Regions from separate parts of the Homo sapiens genome. Here region 1 is linked to region 2. The links are contacts of gene promoters, found by promoter capture Hi-C in human tissues and cell types (Jung and others, 2019). All regions are on one chromosome and are shown on one strand. Each heading gives the region's core, a stretch centred on a gene start or on the middle of the fragment in contact. The rest is flanking DNA. Distances are from core to core; before and after follow the strand shown.

The links. Contacts are between HindIII fragments. The study calls those that stand out against the background at their distance.
Region 1: a contact is called between a fragment that was not itself captured here and the fragment with the promoter of SORCS1 in region 2, in 2 of the 25 tissues and cell types used here (heart right ventricle and mesendoderm cells).

Annotation. Positions count from the first base shown.
Region 1 is chr10:107,275,925-107,281,745 of GRCh38, reverse strand. No RefSeq gene overlaps it. Among named protein-coding and RNA genes, the nearest start is that of SORCS1, 110 kb to the right of the region's middle. The HindIII fragment of the contact is 3,812 bases long and covers 2,434-5,821 here.
Region 2 is chr10:107,160,755-107,167,378 of GRCh38, reverse strand. SORCS1 (sortilin related VPS10 domain containing receptor 1) reads left to right here and starts at 2,673. Exons shown (of 26, transcript NM_052918.5): 1 at 2,673-3,410. The coding sequence starts at 2,853. RefSeq lists a silencer at 2,764-2,957. The HindIII fragment of the contact is 4,558 bases long and covers 115-4,672 here.

The DNA.
Region 1 (5,821 bases), core at 3,090-5,589, 110 kb before region 2:
ATGATAAAGGGGATATCACCACTGATCCCGCAGAAATACAAACTACCATCAGAGAATACTGTAAACACCTCCGTGCAAATAAACTAGAAAATCTAGAAGAAAAGGATAAATTCCTGGACACATAAACTCTCCCAAGATTAAACCAGGAAGAAATCGAATCCCTGAGTACACCAATAACAAGTTCTAAAATTGAGGCAGTGATTAATAGCCTACAAACCAAAAAAAGCCCAGAACCAGGCAGATTCACAGTCAAATTCTACCAGAGATACAGAAAGGAGCTGGTACCATTCCTTCTGAAACTATTCCAAACAATAGAAAAGGAGGGACTCCTCCCTAACTCATCTTATCAGGTCAGCATCACCCTGATACCAAAACCTGGCAGAAACACAACAAAAAAAGAAAATTTCAGGCCAATATCCCTGATGAACATCGACGTGAAAATCCTCAATAAAATACTGGCAAACCGAATCCAGCAGCACATCAAAAAAGATTAACCCCAACCATCAAGTCTGCTTCATCCCTGGGATGCAAGGCTGGTTCAACATACACAAATCAATAAACGTAATCCATCATATAAACAGAACCAATGACAAAAACCACATGATTATCTCAAAAAATGCAGAAAAGGCCTGCGATAAAACTCAACACCCATTCCAGAGGTTCTTAACAAACAGTATGACAACCACGTCATTGACTTTCTTTTGCCCTTAAGCTATGTCTTAAAGATAATGTCCACAATTTGGAATTCATCCTAAAACTTTGCATTTTAATGTCCAGATATTTGAAATGATAAAGAGATTTATTTTTTAACTTTGTAAATCTTAGAATATATGGACTGTATATATTCCTTATCAATTATATTTGCAAATTGTTTTCCTGATTTCAGTTTTTTTCTTAATGTAACTTATCAAATTCACCTAGTAGCCATCAACTAATATTTTCAATATTAAGCTTCTAAACCACCTGGCAGAATGTTCAACTTTATTAAGAATATTTTCTGTCTTCCAATTTACCACAGGTAAGAGAGAGATTTACCAAATATTTTGCCACCACATAAAATGGATTTCCACTTTCCTAGCTTCAAATCAGTGTTTTCTCACCGATTACTAACAGTCCTAAAGACAAGATTTGAGACATCTGTTACGTTAACACTTTACTTTCAGTACCAATTTCTTTATCAGTCAACTATTGCACAATAACATTACATATTACATCATGCCAAAGTGTCAAAAGATTACAACAACAAGTACTTATTCATATTTTATGGGTCTGCAAAAGGACTTTAGTCTGGGTTATGTAAACTGGCTTAGTTCCAGGTTGCAGATTTGGTTTATGTCTACTTCATGTACATTTACTCTGAGGTCCAAGCTGAAGGAACAGTGGCAATGTAGAGTACATTCTTCTAATGACAGATCACTGGAGCATAAAAGGATAACCGTCTGAGCACAGTTAAAACTTTTGCTTCTGCCATATCCATTTAAAGTCCATTAGCCAAAGTAAAGCAAATCACATGCCAATGCCCAAAGGATAGTATCCACCCAACACAAAGGCATAACAACAGTGTGAATGTTATTGTTCTTCTACAAGGAAGTGACAAATTAGAACCAACAATTTAGTCTACCATAACATCCAATACAAGTTGGGCCAATCGAAAAACTTTCATTGATATAGAACAACTACTCTTGTTCTACACAAAGAACAGCCCTTTCTACCATGTAATTAAGTGTGAGTGTAGGGGAAAAGCTAGTCTCCAGAGAATGACAAAAATGATCATATAAAGCAGAAATGTGAGAGGCCCAAGGAGCTCCCTACATGCCTAATACCTTTCCCTTTTCTGCTTCCATTCCTTCCTGAGACTCAGAACCTGTCTTCTGCCTCATTGTGACCTTCTCTTAACCTTTAAGTATATTTTAATTTTAATCTTAAACTAGCTCAAGAGGTTTTCCTACAACTTAAAACTAATTACCAATGAATACAGAGGGATATCTGTTACTGAGGGTCAAAGTCCTGTATTAGATTCTCAATGGGCACAACATCTCATCCCTGGCCAGTGTAAAACTAGACTAGAGTGTTCCTCAGGTCACTTTTAGCTTAGAAGTTCTAGAGGACGTTCCCTTGAGTGATTTGGCTGACATGGAGAATCTGTGCCTTCATCACATTAGCAAGGGTTGCCTAGTCATTGAATACCACTCCAAAAATAGATGGATAACTTAACATACTCCAGTGTTTCACAGACAACTCAAAGCGTGTATACCCTCCTGGTAAAGCATAAAGATTACCTCAGTATCCACCAAGTATCTTCTTTTTAGGTTCAGAGTAAGCACATTAATTCCAGTTTATTGTCATTTTAATGCACACACACATACACACACAAAAAAACAATAAATAAATAAATAAATAAAAATAAATATTTTTTTATAAACAATAAAAAGGAATAAACAGCCCAGTGAGTTTACTTTATAGATGAATGTCTTTGCAGTTAGCAATGAGCTGAATGTAGTACATGGCTCTGGGTTAAAATCACTTTGTTGTTTTCTAGGCACAGGACCATTCAATCAATCAACTTCACTCACTCTCCACTTCCTCAGAAAACTGGATGATGAGTTGAAGGATCATGGCCTTGGAGACATTGCTGATGAACATGGCAGAGATGCTGTCTCCCCCAAAGGACAGATAGCAACAGTCTGATATAAGCAAGATTTATTTTTCTTATTTAGTCAGAGAGCTACCCTACTGAAAGATACATGTGAGTTCCAGGTTCCTTCACACATCCCAGAACAAAATCTCCTGCAGTCTATACTGAGATGGACTATAGAGTTCTCCAGAATCTGTAGAGTTGGACTATAGAGTTATCCAGAATCAACTTATCCAGGTGTTAGATCCAGCCACTTAACAAAAGATATGGGATGGTACCAGTCTCTTTCCCTCTTGGGGTGGCAGTGTTATTTACATCAGAGTGAGTTGGATTGGAATACAATATACATAATTTACTAGTGACATGACATTAAGCAAATTACTTAACCTCTTTAAGGCTCATGTGTAAGGTGGTGATAATAATGCCTGCCCCATGAAGCTATTGCATTATAAGAAGATGATATGTGCAAAGCATTCAGCACAGTGTCTGACAAATAGTAAGATTTGTTTTTATCTCCCCTGCTATTTTCTGTTATCTTGCCTTGTTGCAGTAACATTATATATGGATACAGTATGGATGATACACCTTTTTAGGAGAAAATAAAGGCATTACGTTTTGACAGTTTAATATGTATTGATCTTTCCTTCAGCCTTATATGAGTATTCACTGGACTACAGCAGGTGTCTCCCTCTCCAGACTCTCTAAGGTATTCTGACTTATGTGCTATGTCTTCATAGAATATTAGAGAAAAAGGAGCTTTAGAGTTATTTATTTTACAGATGAAGAAAGAGACACCTGAAACGATGAAGTAGCTTGCTAAAGTCATTCAGCTAGGTGGTAGCAACACAGGATTAGACTCTATTCTAGACCACATTTCACTTTGCCATCCAACCTAATGTCTAAAAACAAAGTCACAAGTTTCTCTGGTTAGCTCTCTGCTAATTTTTTAGCTAAAACCACAATAACAAAAATATAATAACAATAATGAAATGAAAAAGGGTCTTTTTCTTTCACTTATTCTTAGCTTCAGATTATGTGCTTATATATTAAAACTAAGGTTTCACAAGCAGAAGACAGAAACACAAATAACTTTGGGTGGATTTCAGAAATTAGTGTGAACTAAATCAGTCTATAAAAACCAAATACCTTAAAAATCAATAATCTTTGAAGGATCCACCACAGAGTCCAATAAGAGAAGACAGAGGCCCTCTCAGAACCCGCAAGAACCTTAGGACCCAGGAACACTCAGCAGGGAACCTACAGTATGACTCAAAAACAAGCTTAGTTAAAACACACAGCAGTGAACAAAGCTGGACCACCTGCATGGCTGAGACCTACTATTTGATTTAAAGAAAGAAAAAAAAAAGAAAAGAAAATCCCATTGTTTTAGTTAGTCCCAGGAGAGCTATGCTGTGGTTGCTTTAACATCGCATGAGAGGGTGTCTGTATAAATTAGCCAGGCCTGAAAATTTAAAGCTGTTCAGCAGTAGGACCAAAATATATAAGAGGCATTGGTAGGATGTGCCTGGAGATTATTAGTACTGGAGGTGAGAATAATGAAATGTGACTTAGATGCAGAGAATGACTGTTTTCACACTTGACATAACTTTCAGCCATGTTTTATGCTATGCACAAAGAAAGCAAAGAGAATAGCTAAAGATGCTACATTCTGAAGATAATGACTACCAGAAGCATCAAAATCTCACTGTCTTTTGGGTAAAACAGGCAGTGAGTACAGCAGAGTCTAGGTGAAAGGAAATCTACAAGGATTGAGGACATCACAGGAAACTGGGATCATTTCCCCCAGATCCCACAGATTTGGGCTGAGCTCTGTACCTCATCTCTGATCATCTTTTATTGGATCTTTAGCCGTTCGATTTAGGTTGTTACAGTATCATGCTTGGCTAAACTTTCAATTCCAACTCATACATTTTCTAAAAATTGTGATTATAAAACCCTATTTCTGAAATAGATTCATTGTTTTCAACTGTCTCTACCACTTTGTGTGGAATGCTCTTCACCAATGCAGACTTAGTACAATAACTATTTTAAGCAATTTTTATGCTTTTGCTTACATAATTTTCAAGTTCCTGAGTCTTCCTATTAAAAAGCCCATCAAATATTTTTTACTCCCTCATATTTTTACAATACCCATGTCCTTTTATCCCAGCAACAACTCTGGAATAGATTTCTCCTCCTAAAATTACTAGCATTGCCTCTTTTTAAAATTGACACCTGTAAATGCTGGATTTTAAATTTACCAGTTCACTGTATTCACATCTTTGAATAATTCAGTTTCTGAATGTGGAGAAATTTTGCCTATCTCTAACAGGGAATCCCTTCACTCATCTAATCCAGTCTGTACATCTACATGAATTTGGATCTCTTAATTGATATATCACACCAATCCATTAACTGTAGACTACTCTGAGAAACTATTAATTTTCTCAAGACATAGGCAATTATTGTTAACCTTAACTAGTATTATAACCATTTTTTGCTGGTAAATGCTTAGCAACAGACTCTCAAAAAAAATAGCCCTGATTTCTAGTGTTGGCCACTTTTCATGATGTAAATACTCCCACCATTTCTGACTCCGTATTACATATTTGACATGAATGGACAAAGTTGATCAGAGCATACGATCAGCTCTCACAAGACAATATAACCCAGCCCCAGCACACCACTGAATAGAGTTTACTTAACAGTGCACTTTCTGCTGTAAAAAAGTAAATTTATCCTTTTTAGTGTTTACAGATTGAATTAGAAATAAAACGTACACACAATATACACAAACACAAACACATATGGACACATATATGAAAAGATACAGAAGCATAGGAGAAATTGTCCACCATCCACAACAGAAAATGTAGCTATTAAGTAGAGATATTCTATGTGTTTGGAGTGTGGGTGTTCTGTTGTATAAACAGGAATTATAACAATATACTAGCACACAGTTGGAATATTTCTTTGATGACTTAAAAAGGCAGCACACATGTTTCTATGTAGAAAATGCTTTGTTTTCTCAATTCAATTATTTTTAATGGTCTCACAAAGGTCTTTGAATTTGGGCAGTTGCTCTCCATTCATTCTCAGATGTGGTTGTAACATACAGTGACTAATCCAACAAAAAGCTGCTCATTATGTACTCTGTAGCAGCACGGCCCTAAGGACCAGTGGTAC
Region 2 (6,624 bases), core at 1,424-3,923:
ATTATATTATATTAATAAAAATCTATTGGATTGCTTAGTGGGTTGTTGGATTGAAAACATCTTGAAATAGACTCCCCTCCATGATTAGCCTATTTATTGGAGTCTTCTAGATAAGGGGAATAATTTAGGAAATTACTGGTACTTTCCGCTTCTGTTTGTTGGCAAAAGTAAACGGGGAGCAGAGCCATAAGAAATAAAATGAATCCATCTATCTACATATGAACAATACGGCTTGCAGCCAATGTCATCCACACTTGTGTAACTTCTGTCTCAAATGAATAATTAAAATCAGGCATTAAAAACTTGCCTGCTCTCTATGAACTCCCAGCAAATGGACTGCAAATGCTTTCATTTTAAAGGGATCATTCTGACAGGTGTGTTTGAAAAGAGGTTGTAAATTCTGGGAAGGAAAAATCTACTCTACTTGTACGAGCATTCTTCAGGAAGCGCTTCCATTTTGAAACCAAAATAACATAAATGGTGGTAGGGCAATGATAGACTAAAGCCAGGAAATCTGAATCCACTAATGTCTTCTTTTCCATTTTGCTTCTTCCAGCCTATATTTGGATGATAATTTATTTGGGTTCTGATTCTTTAATCTGCTTTTCCTTTCTTGGAGGAATTCCCATGTACTTATCCAGACTGGAAAGGAGGTTAGCAGGGCATAGAAAGAAGTCATTAAGTAAATGATCCTGCAAAGCTCTAAAAACCTTTCTGAGGAAAGAAAAAACTACCGCTCTGGGTTTTGACAAAGAACATTTGCAATTTGAGGAGGAGAGAGGACCTCTGGCTCTCCTCTCCTCCATCTAGAGGCCATAGCCTGCCAGACAGCCTTTCTGTTTTGGAGGATTCAGGCATAAAGGAGCTTTTGCTTGTATTTCTTCTTTAACGACAAACAGGACACTCTTTTAGGTCCTTTTAGGTACTCAAGTTTAATGGCTGAGAAGCCTGCCCTCCTTGCATTTGCACTTTTTCTGCGCTGGTCGTAAGAACAAGAACTTAGGCCGATATTTTACAACACCTCTCTGGATTGGATTGATATAACAGACGTTTTCTTGGACATTAGAAAGAATTTCATTAATTGAAGAGTAATTATCACTCTGTATTACTTTGAACTTGGCCTCATCGCAAACACGGTATACAGATTTTTCAGTGAGGTTATTATTCTAGTATGAAAATGAACAAAAATGTAACTAGAAACTGGAATCGGTACTATTTTGTTGTGTCATTCATTTATTCAATCAGTAAATATTCATTAAATAATGTAATAACATGTACCTAAGAGAATATTACGTATATGAAGACTGCAAAGAAATCTGAAACCATTTCAACCCTTAGAAGCAAACTGTCTACTTTAAAAAGGATTGGATTTTGAGAAATCCTTTGCCGTTTTCAAAGCCCATTCACCTGCTATAAATCTTCATCTGAACTTACGAATAGTAGCAGGGTGCTAGGCTGGGCAGATACTATAATCATACAATTATAGAATTTTAGGAGCGGAAGGGATTTTAAAGGTCATCTAATGTGACCATTTAATTTTAAAGCTTAGGAAGCTGACAGATTGTGATTTGTCTGAGGTCCCAAAGCAAACCAGTGGCAGAGCACCATCACAGACTTGCTATTAGGGATCTCAAAGCATGTGGCAGTAGCACTGGGCCAGGCACCAAGTGACACAGAATAACTATAAGTACTGTGCCTCCTTTCCTGTATTTATTTGTTATGCAGATATGCATTAGACTCACAATAAATATTTATTGAACTAATGACTGGCAGATTTCCTCCCATGTAGGGTACTGTGCCACGTACTGAGGAAAATGGTAAACAAAAAACAGGTCACTTCCTCCAAGTTGCTCGAAATTTGATCTTCCTGTCCTCAATGAGTTTGCAGTCTCTTAGGGAAACCAAGATATATACGCTTAAAAAACGCGTAGTGGAAAGCGTTTTCTTAAATATGATTGCATGCAGGAAGATTGGGTTCAAATTCAGTGAATGCTTTAGGAGGTTAGGAGAGAAATCTAAGCGTTAAAATTGATGGGAAAAAAAATCCCCCAAACTAACACACACACACACACACACACACACACACTCACACACGAGATCATTTAATTACATCACTCTCTGCTGCTGCCTTTCCGGGATCTCCCCCCAGGCTGGGACACACAGGCTCTGCTGCGGGTAAGGTCAAGATGCCAACTCAGGAAGCATAAGAGAGGGAAGGAGCAGAAGCCCACCCATCCCTATCTCCTCAACTAGAAAAGACCAGAAAGACGGAGAAAAAAGGAAACAGCAACATAGACTCATAGAAACAATAAAGCAGGAATAGGAAGCTCCCGACACATCGACTGCTCCGGGAGCCCGGGGTCGACCGCCCCCGCGGGCAGGGTGCGCGGACTCAGCGCCGGGACCCGCGGCCGCGGGGGCGCAGAGTGGGCGGCGGGGAGAGGCGGCGGCAGCGCCTGCGAGGCCGAGGGGAGGTCGCCGGCGGCGCCTCCAGCGCCCGGAGACCCGGTGCGCAGCGCAGCTCGGCCGCGGGACGCGGCGCCCGGAGTCCCGGCAGCGCCTGCCCTCCCTCCCGCGTCGCCCGCCAGCGCCCGCGCCCGCTCCGCCAGTGACTTCAGCTCAGCTCCACCCCCGCGCGGCGGCGGCTCGCTCCGTCCGGACCCGCGCTCGGCACAAGCCCAGCCCGGGCAAGCGGCCGCCACCTGCCCGGCGCCGCCTCCGCCCGCCCCCACCGCGGCGCAACTTGGATGGAGTTGGGGTCCTGAGCGCCGGCCCCCCACAGCCGCCAGCGCAGAGCTCGTGCCGCCACCTTCGTTCTGGGACCCCTCTCTCCGCTGCTCTTCGCTCCCGCGATGGGAAAAGTTGGCGCCGGCGGCGGCTCCCAAGCCCGGCTGAGCGCGCTCCTCGCCGGCGCGGGGCTCTTGATCCTCTGCGCCCCGGGCGTCTGCGGCGGCGGCTCCTGCTGCCCCTCGCCGCACCCCAGCTCCGCTCCACGCTCGGCCTCGACCCCTAGGGGCTTTTCCCACCAGGGGCGGCCAGGCAGGGCTCCTGCCACGCCCCTGCCCCTCGTAGTGCGTCCCCTGTTCTCAGTGGCCCCCGGGGACCGAGCGCTATCCCTGGAGCGGGCTCGGGGCACTGGGGCATCCATGGCGGTTGCTGCACGCTCCGGCCGGAGGAGACGGAGCGGAGCGGATCAGGAGAAGGCAGAACGGGGAGAGGGCGCGAGTCGGAGCCCCCGGGGAGTGCTAAGAGATGGAGGGCAGCAGGAGCCTGGGACTCGGGAGCGGGACCCGGACAAAGCCACCCGCTTCCGGATGGAGGAGCTGAGACTGACCAGCACCACGTTTGCGCTGACGGGAGACTCAGCACACAACCAAGCCATGGTCCACTGGTCTGGCCACAACAGCAGCGTGAGTAGAATGGGACTGAGGGTAAAGGGGTGGAAAGATGGAAAGGGTTAAAGTCGGCTGTGTGATCTGATGGAGAATTGGGGGGAAATAGGGTTTCTGGACATGGGAGATGCTGCAAACTGGTCTCTGCCCACTTCCCCCAAGAGTTAACATCACCTACTAGGAGACCAACCTCCCCATCTCTCCCACCAACACCATCAGAGTCCTCTCCAAATGCCACAGCTTCAAACTGAGGAGTCAAATCCCTATTTCCTGTTGCCTTGGTCGCATTGGTGTGTGGAACTGAAGACCAGGTAAACAGAGGGGTTAAAGTTCTCCTAATACAGAGATGAAAGGGTTAAATTTCCAGGCAAGCTGACATCCCCTCAAGTGACTTTCCCTTTACTTGCCAGACCTATGTACTGGCTCAAAGAAGATTAAGAAGACCCATATATGTAGGCGTTTTATTTTATTTTATTTTAATTTCATGCGGAGCTCCTAACCCCTTCTTCTCCACAAGGGAGAACTGCAGTGGAGAGTATATAAGGTGTTCTTTAGTGTATCCTCTGCTTTAGGGACCAAGTGGATGCAAGTTTCAGGGCAGGAACTCTCCAGCATCTTCTAACAGCGCTAAGCGAGGGTGTTTTGAGAACTGGGGCTTTCCAGCCCGTGAATGAGCGGTTGTTCTCTGGCATGGTCAGTCCCAGGAAGATCAGATATATCCCAGTGACAACAACTCCCTGTTCTCCCCCATTGCCTGACCTCCTCTAATGAAGAGCACAAATAAAGACTTAACATTCCCTTTATGAAGGCAGGAAAGGGATTGCTCAATTCCAGGAGGCTGGATTCCAGGGGACTTAGGATGCAAGTCCATGAGCTTTGGTCCTATCAGGAAAGGTTTTAGATTTTCAGAAAAGCTTGCATGTCTGCAATCTGAGGGAGCTATTCCTGTTTAAATTGAACCTAGAAACTTCAGTGAGTTGAAATAGTAGAGAACCAGCTTTGATTGTAATAACTAAAAGTGATTTTAAAGTGTGGAAACTTCTCCAGACATAGACAAGAACATAACAACCAAGGATGGGTAAAATGGGGGAAAAAAATTTCAAGTTTTACAGCTTCAACCAGGTAATTGAGATTGTAGTGTTTGTAATATGCACAATTTACGCAGTCTGGAACCTTTCAAAACGTTTTCTGTTGTGATGTAATTCCCAGAAACCTTCCCAGAGAAGTGCCACTTTAGTGAGTTGTGCTCATTGTCAGCTTTTTAATGAGAGTTGTGAACATTTTAAAATACTAATCTGTCATCATGAATTCCTTGGGTACACAGATATAAATTGTATTAAGGCACATCATGATAGATAATATTTAGCATTGATGTATCTGTCCTGAGAGTAGTAGCAGGGTTTTCCCTACAATTCCTCCTTCATGACAGAGTCTGTGATTTTATATGGTTCTCAGGAGTGGTTTGATCAAATAAATGAAGCTGAAATTCTTTCCATTCAAGTTCTGGAGACCCTTGCCCTCATTCCTTACCTTAACCATTATATCTTTCATATCATAGCCACTAAAATTAATCCTCTAATTTGAACTCGAATCTTCTTAAACTGATTGAATAACTTTCACACTGCTTTAAGTGATTAACTCAAAGCTTCTGGCTTTAAGGGGAGATTTGAAACACATCAAACATGTTAGCTCTTGTTGTATTAAGAAGTAAAAGACTTTGGACTCAGAATGTTTCTGGCTTTTAATGTAATTCAAGCTGTAAAATATCACTCACCCATTAGACCTCTTCTTTTAGCTCATCTCTTGAAAGATCTTGGAAAGAAAGAGAAAAGTAGAATACATCTTTGGCAAATTTTTAACCTCCGTTTAGGAAATGGTGCCAAGCACTGCCAGCATTAAAAAATAATAATAAATGGTGCTTATAATTCTAGTAGGGCTTATTAGGTTCAGGGCATTGAACATGCAGGCAGGTCTGAGATAACGTAGGAAATGAGGTGATGAGTGTTAAAGTTTTGATCACTCAAATCATGTTAACTAATGAGGTGAGATTTCTGCCCCCTGAAGTCTCTTATTCCATAAAGACCTCTGCTGACCCAGTCTCTGCTCTGGTCATCACACACAAAGGTGTTTCTTCTTTTTCTTTTTTAAGTATATACATACAGATAGTGGAGAAAGAGAAATAGTCTTTATCTATGTCCTCCAAAACAAAGCCAGTCCTACGTATCTGGACCAGACTCAGAGAAAGTTTAAAATATTTTTTAAAGGGAAAGAAAGCATAAATAAACTTTTTTTTTTTGGCCGTTTTGTAGAATGCAAAGCAGAGTGGAGACCTGAATTCTAGTTCTGCTTATTTGTGGTTTGACCGAGGCAAGTTGAGTGTCCGCTGAATGTGGATTTTTTCATCTCTAAAGTGGGGGCTATGCCGGTCAGATTAACTACAGAGAATTAGGAGCCAGGCTATACATAAGAGGGCAGTGTGACTTTACAGCCTCATACACTTGTTTGGAACTCTCAACAGCACTTCACTTTACCCCAGGGTGGGAAATCCACTAATTTAAACCCGAGGGCCAGATTGGAGTGGTGGAGGGGCATGGGGGACTCTTATCTTTTCACATTTAGATGTCCTCCCCTATAAATCTGCCCCCAGACCCATTCAGGACCACAGGCAGTGCACATCCTGTGAACCCTTCTCACCTTTAGCAAAAAGCCTTTGCTATGAAGAGTCTCTGATTATGACAACACCTGCATTCAAGGTGCAAATGCATGGTAATTATAGGCTGCTTGTCAATCTGGTGAGGAATTCTGGATGGTTCACTCACCTCCTTCCCTTCACTTTCCTGCCCCCTCAGCTGTTGGACTTGAGCAGTTGTATAAAGACATGTCTGTTTTGCCTCGTCTGTGGGTGTGATGTGATTCCTCTGTACTGCAGTCTCGATTGATGGAAACTGTTGCTAGAGTTGGTGGAACACCTGGGGGGATCTTCTGGCATGAAAGGTGCTGGGTATGAATCATTTGTCATGAGCTTGGTGTCGTAAGCAAGAACATATTGTTCCCACCCTACTCATCCCAGGCATGCTGTGCCCTGATCTAAATTTATATAGTAATCCTTAGAGTGTTAAAATATATATTTGCCTTTATATGTATGCATAATGGTGTATGTGTTTATTCCTTATTTCCAAGGGATTTTAAAGTGCTGTAGCATTAATCTTTATAAAATCCTTTGTAGGTAGTA